5 separate regions of the Homo sapiens genome follow, and regions 1, 2, 4 and 5 are each linked to region 3. The links are contacts of gene promoters, found by promoter capture Hi-C in blood cells and fetal thymus (Javierre and others, 2016). All regions are on one chromosome and are shown on one strand. The core of a region is centred on a gene start or on the middle of the fragment in contact, and the rest is flanking DNA. Distances in the headings are between cores, read along the strand shown. Region 1 has its middle 35 kb from the start of MIR3130-1. Region 2 overlaps FAM237A (family with sequence similarity 237 member A). Region 3 holds the start of CRYGB (crystallin gamma B). Region 4 overlaps DYTN (dystrotelin). Region 5 overlaps FASTKD2 (FAST kinase domains 2).

The links. The method cuts DNA at HindIII sites, captures the fragments that hold promoters and counts their contacts. A CHiCAGO score of 5 or more calls a contact.
Region 1: a contact is called between a fragment that was not itself captured here and the fragment with the promoter of CRYGB in region 3, in 1 of 17 cell types (naive B cells). The highest score is 5.5, in naive B cells.
Region 2: a fragment that was not itself captured here is called in contact with the fragment with the promoter of CRYGB in region 3 in 4 of 17 cell types (activated CD4 T cells, non-activated CD4 T cells, total CD4 T cells and 1 more); the score reaches 6.5 in activated CD4 T cells.
Region 4: a fragment that was not itself captured here is called in contact with the fragment with the promoter of CRYGB in region 3 in 6 of 17 cell types (naive B cells, non-activated CD4 T cells, activated CD4 T cells and 3 more); the score reaches 7.9 in naive B cells.
Region 5: a contact is called between a fragment that was not itself captured here and the fragment with the promoter of CRYGB in region 3, in 1 of 17 cell types (total B cells). The highest score is 6.1, in total B cells.

What each region holds. Positions count from the first base shown.
Region 1 is chr2:206,816,652-206,819,351 of GRCh38, forward strand. No RefSeq gene overlaps it. Among named protein-coding and RNA genes, the nearest start is that of MIR3130-1, 35 kb to the left of the region's middle. The HindIII fragment of the contact is 3,645 bases long and covers 1-2,700 here.
Region 2 is chr2:206,648,972-206,651,671 of GRCh38, forward strand. It overlaps FAM237A (family with sequence similarity 237 member A), which reads left to right. Exons shown (of 3, transcript NM_001102659.3): 3 at 1-394. DYTN (dystrotelin) reads right to left here. Exons shown (of 12, transcript NM_001093730.1): 12 at 2,650-2,700. Among named protein-coding and RNA genes, the nearest start is that of FAM237A, 7.8 kb to the left of the region's middle. The HindIII fragment of the contact is 610 bases long and covers 949-1,558 here.
Region 3 is chr2:208,144,775-208,147,474 of GRCh38, forward strand. CRYGB (crystallin gamma B) reads right to left here and starts at 1,384. Exons shown (of 3, transcript NM_005210.4): 1 at 1,338-1,384; 2 at 1,000-1,242. The coding sequence starts at 1,346. All of the region lies in intron 2 of LOC100507443 (a long non-coding RNA gene), which reads left to right. RefSeq lists an enhancer at 576-1,199. The HindIII fragment of the contact is 1,715 bases long and covers 139-1,853 here.
Region 4 is chr2:206,686,329-206,689,028 of GRCh38, forward strand. All of the region lies in intron 9 of DYTN (dystrotelin), which reads right to left. It also overlaps the pseudogene VPS26CP1. Among named protein-coding and RNA genes, the nearest start is that of DYTN, 31 kb to the right of the region's middle. The HindIII fragment of the contact is 1,117 bases long and covers 859-1,975 here.
Region 5 is chr2:206,789,977-206,792,676 of GRCh38, forward strand. FASTKD2 (FAST kinase domains 2) reads left to right here. Exons shown (of 12, transcript NM_001136193.2): 11 at 596-710; 12 at 1,707-2,700. The coding sequence ends at 1,826. Among named protein-coding and RNA genes, the nearest start is that of MIR3130-1, 8.0 kb to the left of the region's middle. The HindIII fragment of the contact is 468 bases long and covers 1,059-1,526 here.

The sequences.
Region 1 (2,700 bases), core at 155-2,654, 1.3 Mb before region 3:
AAATTCCATCTGCGACCTCAGTTCCTCTTGCCATGTAATGTAACATATTTATAGTTCCTGAGAATTAGGATATCTTTAGGGTGAAGGAGGATGTCATTATTCTGCCTACCATTCACAGTAAGCACAAATAATTGGTAACTATGGAATTTTCTATCATTATCATTACTATTATTATGTATAGTATTAGTAAAAGTAGTCCTTACTCTACCAAAAAGGGTGCTCGAAACAGGATTTGAGACAACAGAAAAAGCTCTCAAAATCCACAGCCACCTTAATCAAATGTTGGCCTGCCTGGAGTTTTTTGCTGCATCTCTGTTGTCTGACAATCAAACTCTAACAGATTTGGGTGGCTCCCTAGTTGGACCCCATACCTGGAGAGCCACCACTGGGATGAAGTTTCACTTCAAGTGTCTTGTCTTAATGTGTTTTTAATTATGAGAGGCTTTATTTCATTCGTGTTAACTTTTAAAAATTATTTTCTCGGCTGGGCACGGTGGCTCACGCCTGTAATCCCAGCACTTTGGGAGGCCGAGGCGGGCCGATCACGAGGTCAGGAGATTGAGACCATCATGGCTAACACGGTGAAACCCCGTCTCTACTAAAAATACAAAAACAAAATTAGCCGGGCGTGGTGGTGGGCGCCTGTAGTCCCAGCTACTCGGGAGGCTGAGGCAGGAGAATGGCATGAACCCAGGAGGCAGAGCTTGTAGTGAGCTGAGATTGCGCCACTGCCCTCCAAAAAAAAAAAAAAATTATTTTCTCAAAATGCACTAATTCCTAAAGCCCAGGAATTCCCCTTCAGGCGGAAAGCCTTAAAGGAGTCGAATGAATAAACCTAGAGATGGCAGTGGGAGCTCCTGATAATGTGCATCCAGGAATGGTATCTTGACACTGGAGAGTAATGCCAGTGCCTGTCAGACCCCATAAGAAAATAAGACGACCAGAGACATGCCTGCTCTTCTTTCCACAGCAAACAGAATGAGAGAGAATAATCCGCACATGACTGTCGGTTAGTAAGAAGGAAAACATTCTGGCCAGTGTTCCACCTCGGAACACGGTGACCAGAGGAGATCATGGAGCTACATCTCTGGAGGTCTCATCTGCTTGGGATGGTTTAGGTGTGGTTCTAGATAATGTTAGGCAGATGGCTGAGGTCCACCCAATTCCTTCCTTCCCTTATGAGTTAGTGAATTTCCTATCTCTATCTTTAAATTCTCCTTGGACTCAGTAGAACTGTCTCCTAGGTCGGGTGTACATTATTGCTTCCACAGTTCTCTCCAGGGCAATCGAGCAACTGAAAACATCTGTTTTTCACTGTCTAAAATGGATTTATCCCGTATGAGTTACAGGTTCTCTGACTTCACTCAGTATATTCTAGTTTGGGGGAACAGTGTCTTAATGTCACCACCACACTCTCTAATTAGTACATAAGAAGGCTTTATTTCTACTTGTCCTCTTCTTTCTCATCTATGTGTTTATTCAAATTGCTTTTTCCCCCATGAATCTTTTAAAATCTCTGTTCTTATAATTTGCTATGCCTTCAATTATTATCATTTTTCTTTGCTAGTTATTTCTCCCTCCTTTGATTTAGTCAATATATTTTATCAAAATAATTTAATGGTGATTCTTTTATAAGAGCAAACAACCACCTCTCTAAGTTCATATTTTTTTTTTGCAATCTGATTTGCTTAAGGAGAATGTGCTTGAATTCCTAGTCTTAAGCAATAGGAAAGAACAGCTAATACAAGCTAAAGAACCCAGGTGATTGTCTCTTTTCTCAAGAAATCTACTCATAATGAGTAAATATAAGAAATCCTATTTGCATTATCCCTACAGTTTTCATCCTTAGGTCCTTTACATTTCTGTGCTGCTAATGTATATATTTCCTACTGCTGGGAGAAGGGAGGAATGTGAAAGAAGGAATTTATGTTTTTGTTGACTTCCCTTTTACCCAAATTGACCCTCTTTGGAAATATAAGCTATCGTTTCTGTTGCATAAAAGAAGTAAATGTTGCTATTTACTGTTAGTAAAATAAATGGAAAAGAGCAAGGATATATCAACTGTGAAGTTGTTCCTTTTACTTGAGAACAGGGATAGAATCTTGGACTCTTGAGTGTGTAAATTCAATAAATGCAATAGCAGTTAAATAAATAAGTTGATATTTAAGTATGTAAAATGATTGTTTTAAATTCTATCCAATAATTTCAGAGACTTTGCTTTGAATAGCATCTCTCTCTCCTTTTTTTTTTTCCAGGTTTTTGCACAATTCAGGTTTTTTTTCCAGTCTTTTTGAAATACAACCTGAATTTACTGAAGTTTTATTTCCTAGTCTTAATACACTTGAGCATCTCCAAATCTTAAGTCAGTTTCCAGATGTAAGCTGGCAGATACCAGAGGAATAGACTTGAGTCAGTCATCATTATGGCTGAACTGCTAAGACAGTGAGGGTTTCAGTGAGGTGAAGTTGCTAGCTCTGGTGTTAGACTGACCCAGCTTCTCTCCATGGCTCTGCCATTTACAAGCTATGTGGACAAACCTCTTAACCAGGGTGAGCATAATAATCACCCAAACCAGGATACTTTTGAGAGTGAATAGTGGTGTCATTAATAATTATGCCAGGATAACATGTATAAATCAGGACTCTCTTGGCCAAACCAGAATGCATGGTCACCCAACTCTTAGTAGAATAAGCTCTTTCC
Region 2 (2,700 bases), core at 4-2,503, 1.5 Mb before region 3:
GGCTGCTAGCATGTTTCTTCTAATGGTGACATTACTGCCAGTCTATCCCACAGTCTAAAGGAGTTAAATAACTTCCAGAGATGACTTGAGGATTCTTTGTATTCATTTAATAGTTCATTTTGGGATGCTTGACATGTTAATAAACTAGTGTGCCATACATTTAACTTGAATACACTGCATGGCTTCCAAGACTTCAACCACTGGATTGCTTATGCACAGGCACATAAGGGACTACATTTTGGAATTACTAGTTACTGACAATCTATGATATCTGAATCTTGTTTGACAGCATATTTTTGAATACTGAATGAAGCAAAAAGTAAAACAAAACAAAAAACTGGCAAATAAAGCATTCTTCTAATGAAAACAAAATTAATAAAAGCTCTGGACCCCAGGTAATGTTATTGGAGTCTCTTTATTTCAATATTTAATGTTATCACTAATGACATCCAAACTCTAATAAAATAATGTTTAAGTGTAAATAGGTACAAATTATTTCCCAATAAGCATATTTGTTATTTGATTAAATATTATAACTCTATAAGTGGTTACACTTTGCATTGAAAAACAAAATAAAGCGAACAGCATTATAAGAGAAGAACCCATAAATAATTATTTTCCTGAAAAATGACCAGGCCCGAACAAGGTTTATAGCAGAGAAGTCCAATTAGCAAATGTATTTGAGTTAGAGACACAATGCTATTTTTATCTCTAATTATTCCCAACTCTCCAATCATTCTATTATAACCAATATGTAGGATTGACAGCCAGTTTGAATTTCAGATATGTTAGCAATTCCCTTGCTTTTTTCAGGTCCAAAGGAAGCCTCAGTAAATCTTTTCATTGAAGGATTAGGGCCCTCCTTAAACTAGAAATTGCATCTAAAGGGTTATTATCAGAAAACAGTTTCATTTGAGGATTAGTTGAGTCTTCACAACAAGAAAAGGAAGCTTGGGGAAAGAGGTGGGGGAGAAGGCCCAGCCTCAGCTTTTGGCTCCTTGGGAAAATTAGTATTTTATTAAAAAGTTGCCACCCTTTGACTACTTTTTCAACATACAGGCTCATGATTTTGCATTGATGGTGCTTTTTCTAACGTTTTTCATCATATTCTTCAAAACTATCACGTAAATTCACTATCTCTTATAAATCATCAAAGAGAAACTACACTTGGAGAATGAGCTTGCAGAAGAGCCTGCCCTTTGTTCTTCCCTCACCTTGGTACTCCACAACGGGGATTGGCAATCTTTTTCTGTAGAGTCTGATAGTAAATATTATAGGCTTTCTGGGCCATCCAGTCTCTGCTGTAACTAATCAATTCGGCCTCGGCGGAACAAAAGCAGTTATCACAATACATAACTGAGTGAATATGGTTGTGTTCCAATAAAACTCTGTTTATGGACACTGAAATCAGAGTCCATACACTTTTCAGGTGCCACAGAATATTTTTCTTTGGACTTTTTCAATTTTTTAAAAAGATATAATAACCACACTTAGCTCATAGCCTGTTCAAAACAGGGAGCAAGCCGAATTTGGCCCAGGGACTGCAGCTTGCTGATGAAGCTTACCAAAAGTGTAAGGAACAAACTGGGATGAAGTGAAAAGAAGAGTAACTATGCTAAGCAACAAAACTAAAACCAACAGTTTATGATAGGCTGAAAAGCAGATTAAAAACTATTAGGATGAGACGGAACAGGGATAACCTAGTCCTAATCCCATCCAATGAGACATTATTTCACTCTGTAAACAGTTCTAGGAATTACAGATCATATAAAAATCCACAGCCTTTCTGAATGTAACATGGCCTGCATCTCAAGATAATAGACAAAAACATTGAAATCACCACAATGTTTATTGAAAGGAAGTACAGAGTAGTAGTTACAGTATAGGCTCAGAAGCTGAGTTCAAATCCCAGCTTCATCAAGAAGTGGCCAAATCAACTTTGGACAAGTTACTAAACCTCTTTGTGCCTCAGTTTCCTCATAAAATGAGAAACGTACTACCTAGGTTTCTTGTGAGGATTAAATGAGTCAGCACATAGAAAGTGCTTAAAAACTAAGTGCTCTAACAGTCAAAAAAGGTTAGCTATTACTTTGGGCATTAGTAAGTTAAGCATCTATAACCTAATCCAACATAACAGAGAAAGGAGGCACACTGATGCTTTAGTGAAACTTGTTGGATGTGGAGATTTTAGCGACAAACATTCATATATTAAATTTTTTATTTTGAGATACTTGATTCATATACAGTTATAAGAAATAATACAGAGACGTCTGTATGCCCTTCATCTAGTTTCCCCAATGGGAACATCTTGCATAACTATGGTACAATATTACAACTAGGAAACTGACAGTGGTATAATCCAAATTTATTCAGATGTTACCAGTTTTACATGCACTCAATTGTGTGTGTGTGTGTGTGTGTATGTATGTAGTTAGTTCTTTGCTAAGCCTATTCTCCAGCAGAAGCATCAAGATAGAAAATTAGGCCATCAATTCAGTAATTTACATGATACTTGAGGAAGACAGTTGCATGCATCTATGTAGGTCACACACTTGAATGTTACTCCGGAGGTATTCACAATAAGGATGGCCCTTCATGCAGAGATCTGACTCTGCCATATCTTCCTTCCTTCTTCATCCTCTACTCGCCCTGCTAACCCCCAACCTTCACTCTGAACTGCAGAACTAAGATACATAAGTA
Region 3 (2,700 bases), core at 134-2,633:
GAGAGGGGGTTTCACCATATTGGCCAGGGTGGTCTTGAACTCCTGACCTCCTGACCTCGGCCTCCCAAAGTGCTGGGATTACAGGCGTGAGCCACCGCACCCAGCCTTCAGTTCAAATTTCAACCTATCTGACTTTTAAGCTTCCTTTCTAGCCTCCTGCTCTCAACTTATTTATTTCCCTCAGCAGCAAGTATCACCTTCATTAACTTCTGTTTTTATGACACTGTATCCCATGCCTCCCACACACCACAATTCTAAGAATTCTGCAGTCACTGCCCAGAAAATATGGAATCTCAAACTTTAGTTTCAGATTTGGCCTTTTCTCTAATTTATACCTCTAAGTGAGCTAATAGGTACTGACCATTAAATTAGAATAGAAATCAGAAGACAGGATCCTATCTTCTCAGGAGGAATAATCAAATAGAAAAGTAAGACAAAGCAAGCAAAAGTTTGTTGTTGTTGTTGTTGTTGTTGTTATTGTCGTTTTGAGATGGAGTCTCACTCTGTCACCAGGCTGGAGTGCAGTGGCACGATCTCGGCTCACTGCAACCTCCATCTCCCGGCTTCAAGCAAGCAATTCTCCTGCCCCAGCCGCCCGAGTAGCTGGGATTTAAGAATAATGTGATTAAATAGGCCGGATGCCGTGGTTCACACCTGTAATCCCAGCACTTTGGGAGGCCGAGGCGGGCGGATCACTTGAGGCCAGGAGTTCGAGATCAGCCTGGGCAACATGGTGCAACCTCGTCTCTACTATGAATACAAAAATTGGCTGGGCATGGTGGTGCATGCCTGTAATCCCAACTACTCAGGAGGCTGAGGCAGGGGAATTGCTTGAACCCGGGAGGCGGAAGTTGCAGTGAGCCGAGATCATGCCACTGCACTCCACCCTGGGGGACAGAGCGAGACTCCGCCTCAAAAAAAAAAAAAAAAAAAAAAAGAATATCATGAAATAGCTTTTATTTCCAAAAAGATGGAAGGCAAAGACAGAGCCACACTCACCGGGGGGATGAGGCAGCAGGAGCGGATGGAGTCGCTGAGGCCCATCCATTGCTGGTAGTCAGGGTACTCCCCACGCCGCAGGAAGTACTGGTGGCCCTGGTAGTTGGGGCGCTCATAGATCATCCAGCAGCCGCTCTCCACCCTGATGGAGTTGCAGCGGCTGAAATAGGGTTGTAGGTTGGGGCAGTCAGTGGTGCATTCGTAGCTGCGGCCCTGGAAGGCCCTGTCCTCGTAGAAGGTGATCTGAAAAATGGAAGATGTGGGAGCATGGAGTGATTGGCCCCCACTGAGGCCACTGCATTAGGGCCAAGGCTGAGCATCCGGTACCCAGGACTTACCTTTCCCATTTTGAAGGAAGTGAGCAGATGTTTTCTGGTTGCTGTGTGGGACTGCGGGAACGTCACTGTATGTATAGCAGCCCTGACTGCTGCCTCCACAGGAAATCACACAAAAGGGCCCATTTTGGTGAGTAAGGGGATTTGCAAGCTCGCTGCTCTCCGTGCCCAGGTCACTGGGGTTGGCTGAATGGTTTACTCTCATTCTTTCTGGTAGGTTCGGGTTGTTCTAATTCACTAAAGCTGTTGTTGCCATCAAAATGAATAGAGTACACTTTTAGTTGAGCAAAAGGATGGGCGAAATTCTGTCTCTGTGCTTTTATTTTATAGTTTACTCTGCTTAATTGACTTCTCAAAAGTCATTAAACTAAGTAATGAATTCTGCTCAGGGACTGGTGGTGTTTTTGTGTGTGTGTGTGTGTGTGTTTTAGTTCTAAAAGCCAGAATTTAAATAGTAAGGAATCTTAAAGAAGAGGGAATCAAGTGAAGTAATCTGTGAAAGTGTGTTAAAACCCATAAAGCTTAGTTCAAATTCAAAATTCTGTGATCAGCCAGGCGAGGTGGTGCACACCTATAATCCCAGGACTTTGGGAGGCTGAGGCAGGTGGATTGCTTGAGCTCAGGAGTTAGAGACCAGCCTAGGTAACATGGTGAGACCCCATCTCTACAACAAATACAAAAATTAGCCCTGCATGGTGGCGCATACCTGTAGTCCCAGCTATTTGGGAGGCTGAGGTGAGAGGATTGCTTAAGCTCAGGAGGTCGAGGTTGCAGTGAGCCATGATTGCACCACTGCACTCCAGCCTGGGCAACAGAGCAAGACCCTGTCGCAAAAAAAAAAAAAAAAAAATTCTGTGATCATCATTGTTGGTGTTTGGGGGCTTGTCTTGAATAAAACTGATACTTGCCTGGAATTTTGTAGGCTTCTGGGGGCTGGGTATTATTTCTTGTTCATGTCTATCCCTGAGCCCTAGAGCAGAGGGTTGGCACATTGCAGGTCCTCAATAATTGGCTCTGACCTGAGCAAAAACAGATAGTTGTGGCTTTCTTCCCCCTTTCAGATCTTCCTAAGGGCCTAAATCCCTCCTTCTGCTGGTGGCTGTCCAGAGTCCTGCCTGCTGTTTGGTGTTCCTGCTCTGCCTCAAATGTTACCACTAAGTGGCTGATTGGTCTTCTCAAGGCATGGGACCAAAAGGGCTCAGAGTTGGTCCCTATTGCTGGCAGATTGGACATTCTACAGTGGAAATAGCTGGATTAGCCTTAATAAGTAGAAGTTAATGCATAGCCTTCATCCATACCACTATGAACGCTCTCTTAGTGAGCTCACTGCCAGCAGTAGGGTGGCTGATGGCAGACGCTGACTGGA
Region 4 (2,700 bases), core at 167-2,666, 1.5 Mb before region 3:
GGAAGTAGAAGCCTCGAAGAAATGAGGAGGAAAAATAATTGTAATTTAAGGAGTCCATTTCATTTCTGATACAGAATAATCACAAAAACAAGTATATACTGCTGGCTTTAGTTCCCCATGAACGATAACCAGCAGGATATCCACAAGGCCACCCCTGTTTTCTGTGCTTCCCTCCTCCTGGGCTGAGTCCTGCAGAGCTGCAATAGGAAGTTCTCTGTGACCAGGTGGTTAGCATGAAGACGCATGTCGATGGTGGCCTCAAATTCCACTTTGAAGTTGGTCTTCAGCATGCGGCAGGTAAACAGCCTGGAGAAGACCATGTATATAGGGACAGAGAGGCCCCTACAAATGTCCCCATGGGCATCTGAATATAAGGAAACTCTGTGGCATCATTGGCATAGCTTTTTGCACACCCACAGGTCTCCATGTGCACCAGTTGCAGCCCCATGCCTTTTCACCACCAGCTCTCCTGTAAGCAGCTGCACGATGACACAATTCATTGAGTTGGGGTGTTCTCGAATGAGAAATCTGGGGAGCAAGGCTCTCTCTTTGATATTCTGTAAGGTTGCAGGTATAATCTGTGAAGTCCACAGGACTTGGAGTCAACTTCCCCTCCTGAGGAGCAGAGTGGATGGTAAATTCACCGGCCTTTGTCAAGTCCTTGGTCAACAGAGACTGCCTCATGTCACAGCGTAGTGTATACTGAATGTCTGATAATAAGTCTCATACAGAACTTTGTTACCCCTCACATACAGAAGAAATGCGAAATAAATTTGTTTTGCCATAGGGAAATTTCCCTGGCTTCATCCTTTCTATGGCACTGTTGATAATCTGGATAGGTTTAATGGAATTATAAAAAGCTTCAAAACTGCCCACACTTTTGGCACTGAGCTGGGGGATTGCAATTCCTTCCATTGTCAAAGACACTACTTGATGTGGGACTGAATCCTTACAAGATACGACCACCACACTGGAGAGCATTTCTCCAGCATGAGAAACTATTTGCTCTTCCATCTTGATGTCCAGGGAGGTCCCTGTTTTGAATTCTCCACAGCAGCCAACACTTCTGACCTCACATCAAGTTTTTCTTATCAATTTTTCAGGGACCCTTTTAATAGCATCATTTATCTTATTACCGAAAATATTTTTCTAAGTCTAGGGCTTATTTTTAATTTTGTTTATACTATCATTTACCATAACAAAATGTTTAAAATTACATGCTATCATATATATCTGTCTATTCCTTCATGATTTTTTGTTTTTCTTTCTTCCTTAGGAGATGTTCTTTTTTCTAATATTTATTTTAAATTCTTTTTACATTTAAATTTCAATCAATTTGGAATTTGTTTTAGTATATGGGGCAAAATAAGGGCCAATTTTCCTTTCAGATGGATAGCCAATTATGCATTATTTTTCCATGAATTGAAATATCACCTTTATCATATATTAGGTTCCCATATATGCTTAGATCAATTATTATATTTTGTATTCTCATCCTTAGACCTACATGTTCATTCCCGTTTTATACTATATTATTTGGTCATAGTAGTTTTATAGTAAGTGTTAATATCTGTTGTATTAACATCTGTTCTTCAGATATTAATGTCTCTCACTATTCTTCAGTCTCATAATTTTACTATTCTTGTACAACTATTCTTCCAACATACCTTCAAAATTATTTTATCCTATTTAGAAAACCTTGTGATTCTATCTGGAAATGCATTAAATTTAAATACAGTAGATTATGCTCTATAAGGCTACCATGAACAGTGAATTAGGAAATACTGAACCCATTGTTCCTAGAGAAAATACAGGGTTAGGTTCCTGCAAGCCTCTGGCCACAATATTTTTGTCAACCAATCAATGCACAACCTTGTTTTATGTGTTTCTGTATAAAGATGCTTTTTAAATATATATTGTTGATTCATTAGCATTAAACTCATGGTCAACAGCAATATAAATCATACCTGAATGAAGCTTATTTAACGTGTGTATTTTTTCATTAAGGCACATCGTAGCCTTGCTGTGCTTGGGAACACTAGACAGCAATTCAGTACCGTGCTTTGGGGCCATTTGCCAAAGTAAAATCACCAACAAAAAGCACAAATATAAAAAAACAAGACACAAAATAGACACGAAAAGGACACTTGCTTATAGAATGAGGGCTGAAACAGTAACACAGAGCACTATCTGGTTTGACCTCAGCTGGGAACACGTGCATCAGGCAACTCAAAATTTTTTTGCCACTCTGCTTATGTCTGCAAATACTGAAAAAGCACCAGGAGTGTTAATTTTAGGGTTACAAATAAATTTTTGCAAGTAGGCAAATTTGTAAGTATTGAATCTGCAAATAACAAAAATCAGCTATTAATTTTTGGAGCAGGTACATTCTTATGCTAGTCTTCTCATTTAGAAATTTGGCATTTTTTCCTTTTGTTCAGGACTTGTTTTCTGTACTCAATAAAATATTATAATTTTATTTGGGTCTTGTATCTTTTTTGTTAAACTTTTTTGTAGTTTCTTTTAAAAATAATTTTTACATGTATTTTGAATGAGATTCTTACAAAATTTATAGCTGGTTATTGCTAGTAGAGTGAAGAATTTTGTATATGTTTATTTTATTTTTCCACCATCATTTGAAGCCTATTAATTCTAGTAATTTTTGCTAGTTACTTGGGGTTTCTTAGTAATTCACAATTA
Region 5 (2,700 bases), core at 43-2,542, 1.4 Mb before region 3:
TTTTTTTTTCTTTTTTTCTCCCAGTAAACTTAGTATTTCCAAAGTGCCAGGAACAATGAAAAAACAAATTACACCTTCCACATTTTCGTTATATTTACAGATTTTATTTTAACAGTCTTGCCTTTCTCTTGGTGTTTTCTTTCTTGTATTTAAACTCCTATTTCTGTTTTTTAAATGCTGCTTTCTCTGGGAGATGATATGTGTAAGAAGAGCATTTACTATTTGGTATTATTTACACCGTTACTACTACTGGTAGAATAAATAATTATACTCAGATCAGAAATCAGCACTACACAGAAAACCCTTAAAATTGGTGCTTTCATGTCTGAAAATTTTCCTCTTCAAAAATGTAGCCATCCTTAAAGGGAACTGAGAGGTAACTGTGTATAATGTTGTATATTTTTGATTTATAAAGTAGCCTTGTATAGTGGAATATCTGCAGAGGCCAAGTAAAAGAAGTGAAGGACTAAGACAGGAATATCAAGGATTGTGGTCGGTGGAGAGCTCAACTTGGAAATCTCCAGAGAACAAGAATGCAGCAAGACTAAATAGTAATATCAATAACTGTTCTTGTTTTGTTTATTTTTGTTTTCAGAGTAGCTGTGCTATGTGTTTCCAGATCTGCTTATTGTTTGGGTTCAAGCCACCCCAGAGGATTCCTTGCTATGAAAATGCGGCATTTGAATGCAATGGGTTTTCATGTGATCTTGGTGAGAAAAAAATGCAAATGAAATATTCTTTAATTACTGATGTACATTCTAACAGCTGCCAGGAATCTTGTGGTTGAGACTGGTTACTAGGACTAGAGGAATTGTCAGCATTATTGGAATGAGTGCTTTAGTTACTGTTTTCTTTGAAAAAGAACATTGCTAGTACACGATTTGGGTTCTGCTCAGCTGATTACTGTCATTACTAGAGCTTTTACAAATGTTGTTCTGGTCAGCTTTAATCCTTTTTTGCTAAGAAGAAGAATGCAAATAATATATTTTCATATTTAAGATACACAAAACCATATTTAATTTCCAGGTTATCTTGAACAAGGGAAGGAAAGATGTTAAAGCTTTGTTTTCATGGCCTGTGTGAAGCTGTTACAGGATGTTTGTTGCCAGAAAAGGCTGGATGGTTTTAAGAAGATGGGTCTTTCTCTTCCCTCTTATGCTTCAATTTTATTTTGTACCCCACAGCTTCTCTTGAACAGCCTCTTCTGATGTTTCTAGGTAGTAGGAACCTTACAAATACATTTATATATATGTTGCTGTTGGAATCTATCTAAATGCCACTCATTTGGTCCTGCGCATAATGTAAGATGTAAACATTCCAAGTCTTCTATTATTATACTTTAGTATTGGAAATGGATTACGTGTGGACTATTGAGATTAAGATGACTCCTTTCTCTTAGTGGGCTACTATTTAAGACTTTGTTTTTTATATTGCTGATTATATATATTCTAAGGAAGATTTTCTCAAGAAAGCAGTTTTTGCACCATTTAGAGGACCTTTAAAATTTGTATAATTTTCACAGTTAAAGCTTTCTTAAACCCTAGCATGTAGTCTTATTATGCCTTTAAAATATGAGTAGTTATAAGGTCACATTTGCTTTCAAAAAGCTATTGTCCTCATGTTACTTTACTATGTTTGGATCTCTAAACTAGCTCTTTTGTTAGTATCGTCTCACAAACTGATTATTTTCCTCTTTCTTTGGTAAGGTCAATAACTGGGAGATGGACAAACTAGAGATGGAAGATGCAGTCACATTTTTGAAGACTAAAATCTATTCAGTAGAAGCTCTTCCTGTTGCTGCTGTAAATGTGCAAAGCACACAATAAAGTGAAAATCAACCTTTTCATATTAGGAGACATGCATTTGTAAAAATTAATAAAGATGACAAGTCAGTTGTCAATGGAATTGAGCTATCTGCTAAGACAAAAAATGTTACCTCAGTTCACTATTAAAATTAATTTTAGGAGTGGAAGAAATGTTGTTACTGCCATTTAAAAATATGCTGAGAAAATTCCAGAAGGGTTATTTTTCCAACCACACCTATTCCCTCTAGTGCCCAGATATTTGATTTGTGAGCTGTACGTTTCACCTTTTCATCTTTGATCTACTAAAAACTGGTTTCTTAGTTGTGAGGTGTCACAGGCAGGTTGATGTGGGTAGTAGTCCTTGTCTTTGGAATCTGAATATTTATACTCCTGCTCTAAGCTGTTCTAAGACTTGGGGTTATGCCTTTAAATCATTTTCAAGCATTGGCCAAATAATAATTGGACAAAGTTCTAAAGTTGTCAAGTGTGTAAGAATTAGTGAGGTAGCTGTTGAAAATGAGTGAGGATGGTATTTGTATTTGTAATAAGCACTGCAGGTAGAGATATTTCATGGGTTATAATAAGAGAAACACAGATGAGATGTAGATGGTAAGGAGTCTTACTGTTGTTGGGGTCCTTCCTTTCTCTTTCTTTTTTCCCCCTTACCCCTCCCACAATTTCATGAAGTCTTTTAAATTAAATATATAGCTGAATTGTGTTGTGAATCAGACCTGAGGACTATTTTTTCGATTATGTGTGTTCATTCTTTGTTCAAATATTTGTCCAAATTCAACTATTTTGTTCAATATGCCTGTCTACCTAGTATTTGGCTCGCTGGGGATATAGTGATGAATAGGCATGGTCTCTTGTGGAACTTACAGCATGGGTTCCATGC